Linked DNA regions of Homo sapiens: regions 1, 2, 3 and 5 are each linked to region 4. Evidence: promoter capture Hi-C in 16 types of primary human blood cells and fetal thymus (Javierre and others, 2016). All regions are on one chromosome and are shown on one strand. The core of a region is centred on a gene start or on the middle of the fragment in contact, and the rest is flanking DNA. Distances in the headings are between cores, read along the strand shown.

Region 1 (2,700 bases), core at 130-2,629, 570 kb before region 4:
GGCTCACGCCTGTAATCCCAGCACTTTGGGAGGCCGAGGCAGGTGGATCACATGGTCAAGAGTTCAAGACCAGCCTGGCCAATATGGTGAAACCCCGTCTCTACTAAAAATACAAAAATTAGCCGGGCGTGGTGGCGGGTGCCTGTAGTCCCAGCTACTTGGGAGGCTGAGACGGGAGAATCGCTTGAACCTGGGAGGCGGAGGTTGCAGTGAGCCGAGATCGCACCACTGCACCCCAGCCTGGGCAAGAGAGCAAGACTTCATCTGAAAAAAAAAAAAAAAAAAAAAAAGAAACCACATCTTAGGTATCAATTTCCTTCCTCTTTAATAAAATATACAAGTTGCTTTCTGAATGCGAAAGTGTCTTACATTTGATGGTCTTCATTGTATTAAAACACTGGAAATGCATATTTAACTAGACGCATTGAGTATTGTAGTATCACTGTTGATTGTGTTATCCATACTTGTGTAGATGTTGAAAGTGTGATGAACAGTGTGGTATCCCTACTCTTGATCCTGGAACCAGACAAGCAAGAAGCTTTGATTGAAAGCCTATGTGAAAAGCTGGTCAAATTTCGCGAAGGTGAACGCCCGTCTCTGAGACTGCAGTTGTAAGTTAAGATCTGAAAGAAACTCAGTTTTTCTAGGTGCTTTTTTCATGTTACTAACTTTTAATGGTGCAGAGCAGGAATTCTGGAACTTGACTCTCAGCTGTGGCTCATATTAGCTGTGACCTTGGGCAAGTGGCTTGACCTTTCTGTGCCCTAGTTTCCTCCTTTGTAATATGAAGTTGTTAACGGTACCTGCCACAGGTTTGTGGTGAGAGCTAACCTCAACTTAAAACTGGTTGCTGATTTCAAACATTGTTTATTTGTTTGTTAACCAACCAGGTTAAGCAACCTTTTCCACGGGATGGATAAGAATACTCCTGTAAGATACACAGTGTATTGCAGCCTTATTAAAGTGGCAGCATCTTGTGGGGCCATCCAGTACATCCCAACTGAGCTGGATCAAGTGAGTTACTGTGTGGAATAGTTGTTCTGCTTATAAGAAATGTACTTTTTTTTTTTTTGAGACGGAGTTTCACTGTTGTTGCCCAGGCTGGAGTGCAATGGCGCAATCTCAGCTCACCGCAACCTCCGCCTCCAGGGTTCAAGCAGTTCTCCTTCCTCTGCCTCCTGAGCAGCTGGGATTACAGGCATGCGCCACCACGCCCGGCTAATGTTGTATTTTTAGTAGAGACGGGGTTTCTCTATGTTGGTCAGGCTGGTCTCGAACTCCCGACTTCAGTTGATCCTCCTGCCTTGGCCTCCCAAAGTGCTGGGGATTATAGGCGTGAGCCACCACGCCCAGCCAGAAATGTACTTTTATATGTTATACTTTATATGTGTTACTCAGTTTTCTCCTTTTGTCAATCTCTTGTAGGTTAGAAAATGGATTTCTGACTGGAATCTCACCACTGAAAAAAAGCACACCCTTTTAAGACTACTTTATGAGGCACTTGTGGATTGTAAGAAGAGGTATTCAAAAGTAATGAACTAACATATCACTTAACAGACAGTATAAGTAGGTGGGGATGTTTTTTAAAGAGAAGTAGGGCCAGTAATTTTGCTTTACTCTGTTCTCCACAGAGTTGCTATAAATCTATTTCTATAAATTTGACCTAAAGTTAAAGATAACTATAAAGATTAAAAGTAGTTTTCCCTCATCTTTGAACTTTTTAAAAAGTGAAATTTGGCTTTTTTTCTAAAAAAAGAAAGGTGGGGCCTTTCCAACATGGGCTTCAACCTACTGCTGTAGCATGAGCTTGGTGAATGTGGTGAAGCATCTCATCATTTTTGGATGGTGCAGTGGCAGACTACAAAAAACTTTGTGTTAATGTAAATATTCCATCTCTCCACCCATGTCCTTCCTCTTGCTTATCACACTCTAGACCCAGCGAGCCTATGTCAGGTATAAAAGCACCATGCTCTTTGCCAGTCTGGACCAGGAGCTGGCACTGGTTCTTCTATAGCCCGTGTACTAAGAATGGTTTTAACATTTTTAAATGATTGAGAAAGAAAATCAAAGAAAGGGTAATATTTCATGATATGTGGACATTATATGAAATTCAGATTTCAGGGTCCATAACATTGGTATTACATCCATGCCTATTCATTTACATATTGTCTGTGCCTGCTTTTGCCAAGAGTTTAGTTACAACAGATACCATATAGCTTGCAAAGCTTAAAATATTTACTCTCTGGCCCTTTATAGAACGTTTGCCTACCCCTTGTCTAAGTAGTCTTACTATAGTCAGCTTCATGTCTCTGCCAGAAACACCCCTCTCATATTTCGGTTAGTGCCTCCCTTTTACAGCACCCTCTACTTGTATCCTAGCATTTAACACCCTTAGTTGAAAGTAAGGTTGTAGGCTAAGTGAAGGCAAGGAACCTCATCTGTAAACCATTGCATTCCCAAGAAGATAGCACTTATTGGGCACTGAGTGGATAAATGCTACCCACAGTAGGGAACTGGAAGGGGATACTTGTTTAAACACGACATTTCTGACATTCTGCCAATCTAAATGTTGAGAGTTGGTTTTCTTCTTTAGAACACATAAAATACATATTTTAATCAGTAAAATTCTGAGATTTTACCTAGCAGTTAAGTAAAAATGCTTCAAGTTTATGGGTGCCCCCTTCATGACTTTATTTATAT
Region 2 (2,721 bases), core at 9-2,508, 670 kb after region 4:
ATAGGAAACATCGACTCCTGGAAGAAGTTGGTGTGGGCTGCCTGGGAAAGGAGGTTTAGCATCATATGTGGGCTGGTGGTGGTGTGCTCTGGCTAACTTAACATCAAGGGATAGGGAGGTTCTGTCCTCAGACCCAACTGAGTTCCCATCATCCCCCACACCATGCCACCCATCAGTGAGTACAACCTGTAGGGATGCCCTGGAGGCCAAACTTCCCCTAAGTGCTGGGCTTTCAGCTTCTCTTCCCAGAACATCAGACTGACTTAGCTTTGGAATAACTTGGAATTGCAGACTGAGCATTCTGAGAATTCTGGTGATGTTGCAGGGTAACCTGAAATGGGCTGCCCTCCAGTGGGGTTATTGGGCAGAGTAAGGGTCAGGATGGAAGTCTGCCACTTTAGCTGAGGCCAATTTATTATTCATTTATTTATTTATTTAGAGACAAATTCTCGCTCTGTCACCCAGGCTGGAGTGCAGTGGTGCGATCTCAGGTCACTGCAACTTCCACCCACCAGGCTCAAGTGTTCTCATACCTCAGTCTCCCGAGTGGCTGGGACTACAGGCATGCACCACCACGCCTGGCTAATTTTTGTATTTTTAGTAGAGACAGTGTTTTGCCATGTTGGACAGGCTGGTCATGAACTCCTGGCCTCAAATGATCCACCAGCCTCAGCCTCCCAATGTGCTGGGCTTACAGGCATGAGCCACCGCACCCAGCCAAGAAATTTAAGTACATTTTCCTTCTATTTATATTTTGTAAGGGGCAGAACCAGGATTTGGACCCAGGTGTCTAACTCTGGAAGCTAAAAGCTTTCCATTATAACAAGTTGCCTCACCTGAGCCCGACTTAAAATCAGGTGATCTCAGCTATACTGGACTCCAACAGGAGTCATTGCTATTTTCTTGCTGTTGTATTTTATTCAAGTTTAGAAAAAGAAATAGCCAAAAAGCTCAGGCAAGGAGCAGACAAGACACAAAGAACTCTGAGTTCTGCCTGGGGAAGGAGCAGGGGACATGAGTCACCTTCCCCTCTAGACACAGTACTGCAATAGGATAATCCTCTCCCAACTTCCAAATAGAAGTGGCCAAATTTAGTGGCAGGAGGAGCTAGGGGCAATGTGATTGCGACTCCCACCTCTATCCAGAGAACTGGCCCTAAAGCATCTCACCTGCTGTTTCACCGAGAGGCTCGTGGTCTCCAGCATCACCCAAGAGCTTCTTAGTAATACAGAATCTTAGGCCCCACACCCAACCCACTGAATCAGAATGTGCATTTTAACAAGATCCCCAGGTGATCCTCATGTACATTACAGTTGGAGAAGTGCCTAGAACTTGACCCTTCACCTCGTTATAACTCAGTAACTTCACTTGTGAATCAGGCACAATAGCACCTGCTTGACTCACCACTCCTGGCTGTATGAGGATCAGAGAGGACAATGTAGGAAGTTAGAGGCAGAGGTGTTCAGGAAGTTATCTCTCGTGCCCCCTCTACCTTCTCCACTGCCATGGAAGCCTAATCTCTCTCTCAGAGGGAGAAGACTAGCAGGTGGCTCTTCTCTGGAAGAGCAGAGGAAATCAGGGACCCTCAACAGCCCATCCTCCATGGCCCCTGGGGGAATCTCTGAAGATTCTAGCTTTTCAACTGAAAGTTAGGCTGTAATTGACACTGTGTAATCCAGTAGACGGAATTTTGCAGAAATAAATATGAAGCTTATATTTGGGTTTTTAAAAAATCAAATTAGGCTGGGTGCTGTGGCTCACGCCTATAATCCCAGCCCTTTGGGAGGCCGAGGCAGGTGGATCACCTGAGGTCAGGAGTTTGAAACCAGCCTGGCGAACGTGGAAAAACCCCATCTTTACTAAAAATACAAAAATTAGCCAGGCATAGTGGTGCATACCTGTAATCCCAACTACTCAGGAGGCTGAGACAGGAGAATCTCTTGAACTTGGGAGGCAGAGGGTGCAGTGAGCAGAGATCGCACCACTGCACTCCCGCCTGGGTGACAGGGCAAGACTCTGTCTCAAAAAAAAAAAAATCAAATTATATAACAAATTATTCATGTGTGTATATATATATATATAGATATTAGGTTGGTACAAAAGTAATTGCGGTTTTTGCATTGTTAGAATTTTCCGTTTGATATTGGAATAAAACATAAGGCAAGAAAAGATAAAATTAAGAACATAATTCTTATTTACATTTAAGAATGTAAATAAATGTGGTTACCGTATACATCATTTTAATGGGCATTTCTCGCTTTATGTTTTTTTGCTAGTTTATTTTATGTTTATTTTAGACTATGGAAATGATGTTAGACAAAAAGCAAATTCGAGTGATTTTCTTATTTGAGTTCAAAATGGGTTGTAAGGCAGCGGAGACAGCTCGCAACATCAGCAGTGCGTTTGGCCCAGGAACTGCTAACAAACATACAGTGCGGTGGTGGTGCAAGAAGTTTTGCAAAGGAGACAAGAGCCTTGAAGGTGAGGAATGTAGTGGCCAGCCGTCGGAAGCTGACAATGACTAATTGAGAGCCATCACTGAAGCTCATCCTCTTACAACTACATGAGAAGTTGCCGAAAAACTCAGCGTCGACCATCCTACTGTTGTTCGGCACTGAAAGCAAATTGGAAAGATGAAAAAGCTCGATAAGTGGGTGCCTCATGAGCGGAGTGAAAGTTTAAAGAAAAAACATCGTTGTGAAGTGTCGTCTTCTCTTATTC
Region 3 (2,700 bases), core at 133-2,632, 590 kb after region 4:
ATGTGAAGAAATAGTGGGGTGGATGTACAGAGCTAAGTTCTGGCAGAAACGATGTGGAAACTGACACAGTAATATCCCCAGTTGTTGCTACACATTCTGGATCGTGAACATATCTAGGTAATTTAAAAATTAAACATTTTAAAATCAACTACAGGATTTAAAAGATACGATGCAAAATAGGTTATACTTTAGGACAAAAAATTTAAATCATATTTCAGACCCAGAAAAGTTCAATAATATTTGGGTATAGTCCTATTAAACTTTGAAGGAAACTAGAAACAAACTACAAAACCTTGGTGACTCTGGATCAGTAATGACAGCAATCAAGGTTCAATGATCAGTGGTTCAAATAACGGATTGGTAATTAGCTTGGAAACAAAAATGAGCTTATTCAGTTTCCAGGGCTAAGGAAACTTTTGGGACATCTGAAAACCCAGCTGCATGATGTCCAATGCTAAATGATGGCTCTGACAATAAAAATGTGCAAGTATGCTGTTCTCAGAAGCCTCTAATGTATAATCAATCTATCATTTCTGCCAACCAGGCTATTATGAACCAGTATTACCTCCAGTACTCCCTACAATACCTGAATGTTCCATTTAGAGATAATAAATATTTGCCAGGAATTAACAGTTACCGACTTGCTATTCATAATAAATCTATCAGTTGCCAAATAACTTTTTGGTGTTTTTCAAAAATAAATTATATAGATACTATTAACCCATAGTTTCTAAATCAAAATCAGCTTTTTCTTGATTCTTCTGGATAGGAAAAATACCAGTTGTCTAAGCATTTAGATGTTTGGCTTTAAAGTGAGAATAAAATAGTGAGACTGAAGACAATCTTCTATTATCAACCTCAATAGAGAGGTTCTATTATCAACCTTCTTGGGAAACTTCATTTCATGATCTGTGACTTATCATTTTTCTCTGATTTACAATCATTTCAATCCAAAAAGACCCAAAATAAAATACCTGAAAATTTGGTCTCTGATGATGGGGAAGCCACCTGATACAACATTTTTGACATAAGAGGTAAACCAGTCAGTAAAAGTAGCACCTATAAAGCAGGAAAGGGAGAAAAAAAGAAAAGAACAAATAGTTTTGTAAAATCTATACAGGAAACAATTGTAATTCCTCTATGCTTTAGAATGTGATACCAAAACTAGAAACATTTATAGATATAATTGTACTAATTATTTATAAGATCAATTTCTATTCTCAATTCTATCCACCTTATTTCCTTGGGATTCTCCCCCTCTTCATCCCCCCAACTATTGTTAGAGAATCCTCCAATGACCTTCAGACTATTTTTTTACACTTATAATTAATCAAATTTTAAACTTTAATTCATTGTGGTACAAGAATGAAAAGCCTTCTGTCTGTAATTTATTGAACATATAGAACAAAGAAAATACAGCTATGACTAGGAAGAAACTACAAGAAAAATATCAGCACCTATTCTCAGACGTCCCTGGTCCAGGTACATCCTGACTCAAGCACAAAATTTTGGCAGAAGCCAGGCTCAGTCTGGACATCTACCAGGGACATGACATTGTGGAGTTCTGTGCATCGGGCCAATCCCAAAGTGGTCTAGTTGCACACTACTATAGATTTAATTGCACAGCGGTCCTCCATCTTCTTAGTGACCAGCTCAAAGCAGAAAAGGATTACTGGAACAGTCTAGTCCAGACCATATATCTGTGATCTAATGATTGGATTATAACAAGTATTTACATGAATTAATAATGTTTACCCCTTCTAGGTAATATTTAACATAACTCTGTCAGACCCCCCATTATTTACTGTTAATACATCTCAGTGCCTGGAATGTATTAGTCCTTTAATTAATGTTGTTCAACAATGAATTTCTTTGTAATCTGGTTTCAATTAACCCAGTTTCTACACTCTGTCACACTGAATGTCAGATGCTAAATTTATAGTGTTTACTAATTATTCTATTTAGGGAATGATAAAAGATACAATTTGGCTTATATCTAAGGGTACAAGGCTTTAAACTTTTAAAAGGCATCAACTGAGAGAAGGCAAACTATAATAGTTGGCTCTTTCCTCAATATCTATTAATGACCCATTCTGACCCAATATTTATTAAACACTATTGTATTCAAGGTTCACTGATCATGTACCTACTTTGAGTAAGATATTAAGAAGTTATATAAATAATGTCATTAAAATTCATAGAAGGTATAATTTTACGTTTTTAGCACTAGTACTTTCTCTGAAAGAGTTTTTAAAAATCATATATATGTATATTTTGTGGAAAAAAGTTATATAACTAAAAACAAATTTGTGGTTTGCATAAAAAAAATTGGCATGGTGTATTTTAATCTACCTTATTTTATTACAATACGTACCAGAGTGTATTCTTTAAGATGAGGACAGACTAGGCAGCATTCACTACTAAACTTATCTGACAGATTCCAGGTTTCTTAAATATCTATTATTAGTACACTGAACACCAGGATATGCCATTTTGTGTGTTACCAGTCTAAGCAAACTTAGTTGAATCAAGATGCAATTTATATGTTCTAAGGTAATTTACCTTTTAAAGTAAGCCCATGTGTTGGGGTCTCTCTGATGGTTCTGGAGCTTTATCAAGGCAGCTGAAAGGAAGCTCCTTTTTCATCCTTCCTCCCTGCATTAACTTCTCACCTCATCTCTTCTCAGTGTCTCTCAATCT
Region 4 (2,700 bases), core at 126-2,625:
ACTAGATCAGAAAAGGGGTAAACAGTTTTGATACAGTAATTTTAAGACTTTGCATGCTTGGGCATGCTAACACTATGTAAAATGTAAATAGTGCGAAGATTTCTGGACTGAAACCAGTCCTCGGGCAAACACAAAACAATTTAATCAAACTGCCGACATAATGAAATCTACAGTCTTACAGACTATGCAATAGAACGCTCCTATTTTGCCTCATCTCTGCCAACCTCCAATAACATCTTCCACGTTATAAGCTAGGGAACCTGAAAAACGAAAACCTAAGTGCATGTCGTTGCTATGGCAATGGGAAATTTCAGGAAATTGAGACTGCAGGCTACCTAGCCTCCATTTTAGAAACTGTATTTATCTAAACACACCAGGACTTAGATCGAAAAACACATTTAATGGCATTTTTCATAACTATTTAGCTTCCTCTTTCACACTAAAAGGTAAATACTATCCTACAAAATTCTGAATACAAAGAGCAAAAGAAACAAATCACACTGATCTAACCTAAAAGTGTGAATTTTAAAATATTTAGTTGTCACTCATATTTACTATTAAAACAGATGCTTTTATTTACAGTGGCCAAAACAGACTTCTCATTTTCAACTTATACCTGCAATGTTTATGTAGCTGGAAAAATGAAAACGAAATGTGGCTAAAAGAAAAGAAAACGAAAGAAAGCCACAAAATTCCCAAAACCTCAGCATAACTTGCTTCTTTCTTCACTCGCTCTCATTAAGTCTTAATTCTCCAGATTAGCTTTGTCTCAAATATTTCTCAAACTAGTAACCTATTTCTGGGTACAGTATATTTGGCGGGGTAAAAGAAACACTGTCAAGTTTTTCTAAAACGTCGGGTGCACGTTAAAATAATTCCTATCCACTCTAATACCAAAACGATATCAAAGGAAAGCATCCCATCTGGAGTAGTCCCATGAATCTAAATAGGACGAAGCAGCCTACCGCTATTGTCTAAATCAAGTATTTACTCGTATTCATGCCTAAGAGAGAGAAGTAAAAAAAAAAAAATTAAATCTTAGATCTTGCTCCCCATTCCCACCACTCTTCTATATACCCTGTCCCCCGGGTTCACTAGACCCAATTCCTTCCTCAGCCGAACATGTCTGGAGCAGTCGGAGGAACAGACGTGGAGAAGAGGTCGCCACGAGGCCCCACCACTCTCCTTCCTCACCTGCTCCGTGGCTCCGTCTCCTGACATGGCCTCAGCTGATTACAACGTGCGCACTGACCGTCGATGGGAAGCTAGAAAAGAAAAATTAAACTAAAAACCACCCCCAAATCAGTAAAGTTACCCCCTGCCCAGCTGAGCCAGACCGCCAACACCAATCGCCACCGCCCACTCAAATATGAATTAAAATGGCTGCGCCCCTGCCGGCCGAGGAGGAGGTGTGTGGCTTCCGCATTAACTTCCGGGGCAGTGGGCGGGGCTAATTTCGCGACTCTGGTTATTCCGAGCGTGCAGAAAGCAGCGAGATCCCGGGGCGGGCCCAATTCCTGGGCTGACGTCACTACCCTGGCTTGGAGAGGCTGTTGCTGAGCCGGCTCCAACCGGCTGGAAGGCGGGAAGCTGTTTCGCCTGGAGGCTCGCGCGCTTTTTGGAATTCAGTTATCAAGCTTTAGAGCCTGGCTACTCACAGTTGAAGCCTGATTGCAGGTCAGCAATGCTAAACGTTAAATGCCTCTTATATTTAGGGGATAAGGACTCCGTGGAGGTTTTCTCTGGTCCCAGCTCCTGCTTTTTACTTTTCTTGGGGGTGGGAGGGATAGATCAAGCCCCCATTAATTTTTACTGCCACCGTCGACTCTTGTGTAGAAAGCTTTGAAGTCTGAGACCTGGGTTTTCAGCTCAACATCTCAGCTTGGTTCCTTGACTGCAAAGTAGGTATAATTGTTTGTAGCCCAGACTGCTTGGATTTTAACGAAGATAAGTAACTCTGGTAATTAAACTTCGTACCTCAGCTTTCTGGCCTATAGATGGGAATAATAATAGTACCTGCAAGTGAAATAAATTATACATAGAAAAGTGTTAGAACAGTACCTGGCATTAAGATTAAATGAGATTGACTGGGCGCGGTGGCCCACGCCTGTAATCCCAGCAGTTTGGGAGGCCAAAACGGATGGATCATTTAAAGTCAGGAGTTCTAGGCCAGGTGCGGTGGCTCACGCCTGTAATCGCAGCACTTTGGGAGGCTGAGGCGGGCGGATCACAAGGTCAGGAGATGAGACCATCCTGGCTAATACGGTAAAACCCCGTCTCTACTAAAAATACACACACACACAAAAAAAAATTAGCCGGGCGTGGTGGCGGGCGCCTGTAGTCCCAGCTACTCCGGATGCTGAGGCAGGAGACTGGCGTGAACCTGGGAGGCGGAGCTTGCAGTGAGCCGAGATCGCGCCACTGCACTCCAGCCTGGGCGGCAGAGCGAGACTCCGTCTCAGAAAATAAATAAATAAAGTCAGGAATTCAGGACCAACCTGGCCAACTTGGTGAAATCTCGTCTCTACCAAAAATACAAAAAAAGTAGCCGGGCGTGGTGGTTTGCGCCTGTAGTCCCAGTTACTCGGGAAGCTTAAGCAGGAGAATCGCTTGAACCCGCGAGGCGGAGGTTGCAGTGAGCCGAGATTCCAGCCTGGACTACAGAGCGAGACTCCGTCTCAAAAAAAATAAAAAATAAAA
Region 5 (2,721 bases), core at 221-2,720, 560 kb after region 4:
CCAGGCATAGTGGCATGCTCCTGTAATCCCAGCTACTCAGAAGACTGAGGCAGGAGAATCGCTGGAACCTGGGACACGGAGGTTGCAGTGAGCCGAGATCGCGCCACTGCGCTCCAGCCTGGGCGACAGAGTGAGACTCCATCCCCCTGAAAAAAACAAACAAAAAAAAACAAGCAATAGGTCAGTGGACAATGGTTTGATATTTTAGCCACTAAGCCAGGGTAGACGAGGTTTCCCCTGGGCCATAAGAGGCAGAGCTCAGAGGAAAGTTCCCCTGCAGGGTCCTGAGACCCTTTTGGGCAGCAGCAAAGAAGGCCTCTCATCTGTGGGCATGTGAGCTTCACATCTCAATTCTCTGAGAAAGGGCTGAAGTGCACCCCAAGACTTGTCACAGAGAAGCTGATGGTCCCAAGCTTGCTCCATAAACAAATGCAGACTGCTGGAAGTAGGATGTCACTGGGCTATTAAAATTCTAGAAAATATTCCAACTTAAGCAGCAGAGACAGAAAAAAAGAAGGAACCAAGAAAAATGAATAAATAAAAAATAATTATAGAAAAAATATAGTGTTTTAACACAGGTGAACCACATTACAGTGCACCCTGGCTAGAATCACGGAAGGTGGGGAAGAAGGGGTGCCATGACTTCTCTTTCTGCTCAGAAAGGGAGAACATATTAAAGTGTGTCCTGGCGCCAAGTTACTACTTTGCCTTCATTTCCTCAGCTGTAATATGGGAGGTAACAGTACCGACCTCCCGGAATGGCTGGACGGATTTAAATGAGACAGGCTCTGGCACAGTCCCCAGTAAACAATAAACAGTGAATATATGGTTGCTGTTAATATTCTAAGACATGCTACAGTGGTGTGGAAATCTTTTTTTAAATTGCTCACTGTATTGCCACTTTCTTTTCTGCTCCCCCCACCAACCATATTTATAAAAAACAAAAAACCAGCAGTGGCCAAGATATTATACCAACATGACACAGGCAGACAACCACACTTGATCTTTACAATGAAGCATGTGTGTTTCCACTGTTATAGAAGTTGACTCAGAAGCACACAATTTCCTCCAGCAACCAGGGGAGGGGTGGCTGAGGAGAGGGGGTGGCCCAGTGACAGATGGCCTGGAGCAGGAGGGAAGAGCAGGGACTCTGTTGCCAGACTGTGTGTTCACATTCCCGTGTACCACTTCTGTGTGTTATTTGACAAGTTATTAATTTTGGGGAGGCCTCAATCTTGTTGCTTGTAAAACAAGGATAAAAATACCACCAACTCCATCAGGTTGGCATGAGGATTAAATAAGCAAATACACGTAAAATGCTTAGAGTAGTGACTGGCACATAAATGCTTCAGGGTTAGTTAGCTGCTGCTGCTGTCACTATGACCATCATCATCATTAAAACACAGGAGGAGCCTCAGAGCAGAAGGACTGAGCTCAGATGGCTCTAAGCAGAGTGGACCCCAAAGGGACTTGCACAGCACTCTAAGAATGGTATCCATTGGTGTCCCCAAGCAGCTTATGGTGACAGGAGTGAAACTTCAGCCGCCGATTGTTGACCCACCCCTGCCAAAAGCCACGCTGTAACTCAGGACGGGCTGTAACTCAGGACGATGCCCCACTGAGGACAAGGTCATAACATAGGAAGGAGCTGTCATACAACCCCAGACCTGTAACACTGGAAGGCAAAAGAACCAAAGCCAGGCCTGGAGGAGCAGCTGGGGCTGAAACTGAGGCTTAAGAAGGGAGTTCATGGCCAAGGCAGCCTAGATCCATGTCCTGAGACTGGAGCACTCACCTGAATGGCAGAAGACAGCCAGGACGAGCAGCAGCCCGAACAGGACAGACCCTCCTTGGATTCCCATTGTGATTGTCCACAGAACCTGGAAGGAAGGGACAGGAAGGAATGTCAGGAACGAACAAATGACTGCTGGTTGTCTCAAAAACCAAGGGCTGGAAGGCCAAGAAGGCTTCTGAGAGGAACATTTACAGGGGGAGTCAAGGCACACTGAATCCCTGGGCCATGCCCCAGCTCTGACCCACAGCACCATATACCCTTGAGTAGGCTCAGTCCCTATAAGCCCCAGTGTGTACTACCACACTGTGGGAATAACACTATCTTCCCCATCAGGGTCAGTGAGTCAAATGACAATATGAGCAAATTGACTCATATAGCCACTGTGGTTCCCACTCTACTGGCCCCACCCCAAGCTGCTGGCTGAAAGAGAGGGCCACTTCTCGGAGCCACAGCACTAAGTGAATCAGACCAAAGGGGTGACTCTGGAAGGCACCAGCATGCATTCAGCAGTGGAACAGGGAGCAATGGCTTAGCATACCTGGAAGCTCTGGCTCCTCACTGTAAGAAGTATAATGGGGACACTTGCTTGCTCTCTTTGGGGACATGAAGAGAGGTATTGAGCAACTTTGTAAGTTTCCATTACGTGAATGCCTAGATGTGTAGTGATAGCATCAGGTGAGAAGAAGGAAAGCCTGAAATGCCTCCAACCCTACTTTACCCAGTAAAGAAGCCAAAGCTTAGGGAGGTTTTGAACTTGCCTAAGTACAAAGCATCCATAGCAGAACTAAGAAATCTCCCAACTCCAATCCTACATCCCTGAACCCATCCTGAAATAAGGAGGTGGCAGTGCCTGTAAACCAGGGTACTCCATATTCTATTCTCCAGAGCCCCACAGGCCCGGACAGACAGATGGGTTCTTGGAAGGG

The links. Contacts are between HindIII fragments. The CHiCAGO score rates a contact against its expected background, and 5 or more counts as called.
Region 1: a fragment that was not itself captured here is called in contact with the fragment with the promoter of CSTF3 in region 4 in 5 of 17 cell types (total CD8 T cells, non-activated CD4 T cells, total CD4 T cells and 2 more); the score reaches 8.2 in total CD8 T cells.
Region 2: a fragment that was not itself captured here is called in contact with the fragment with the promoter of CSTF3 in region 4 in 1 of 17 cell types (naive B cells); the score reaches 6.8 in naive B cells.
Region 3: a contact is called between a fragment that was not itself captured here and the fragment with the promoter of CSTF3 in region 4, in 2 of 17 cell types (naive CD8 T cells and M0 macrophages). The highest score is 5.5, in naive CD8 T cells.
Region 5: a fragment that was not itself captured here is called in contact with the fragment with the promoter of CSTF3 in region 4 in 4 of 17 cell types (M1 macrophages, M2 macrophages, endothelial precursors and 1 more); the score reaches 6.1 in M1 macrophages.

What each region holds. Positions count from the first base shown.
Region 1 is chr11:32,588,122-32,590,821 of GRCh38, forward strand. It overlaps EIF3M (eukaryotic translation initiation factor 3 subunit M), which reads left to right. Exons shown (of 11, transcript NM_006360.6): 3 at 473-611; 4 at 891-1,014; 5 at 1,426-1,520. Among named protein-coding and RNA genes, the nearest start is that of EIF3M, 5.6 kb to the left of the region's middle. The HindIII fragment of the contact is 1,687 bases long and covers 537-2,223 here.
Region 2 is chr11:33,830,082-33,832,802 of GRCh38, forward strand. No RefSeq gene overlaps it. Among named protein-coding and RNA genes, the nearest start is that of LINC02721, 9.1 kb to the left of the region's middle. The HindIII fragment of the contact is 900 bases long and covers 809-1,708 here.
Region 3 is chr11:33,750,549-33,753,248 of GRCh38, forward strand. FBXO3 (F-box protein 3) reads right to left here. Exons shown (of 11, transcript NM_012175.4): 7 at 975-1,059; 8 at 1-113. Among named protein-coding and RNA genes, the nearest start is that of CD59, 15 kb to the left of the region's middle. The HindIII fragment of the contact is 3,344 bases long and covers 1-2,700 here.
Region 4 is chr11:33,160,105-33,162,804 of GRCh38, forward strand. It overlaps CSTF3 (cleavage stimulation factor subunit 3), which reads right to left and starts at 1,376. Exons shown (of 21, transcript NM_001326.3): 1 at 1,195-1,376. The coding sequence starts at 1,221. CSTF3-DT (CSTF3 divergent transcript) reads left to right here and starts at 1,553. Exons shown (of 4, transcript NR_034027.1): 1 at 1,553-1,677. RefSeq lists enhancers at 1-605, 1,341-1,760. The HindIII fragment of the contact is 5,866 bases long and covers 1-1,635 here.
Region 5 is chr11:33,720,584-33,723,304 of GRCh38, forward strand. It overlaps CD59 (CD59 molecule (CD59 blood group)), which reads right to left. Exons shown (of 4, transcript NM_000611.6): 2 at 1,796-1,880. The coding sequence starts at 1,862. Among named protein-coding and RNA genes, the nearest start is that of CD59, 14 kb to the right of the region's middle. The HindIII fragment of the contact is 2,118 bases long and covers 412-2,529 here.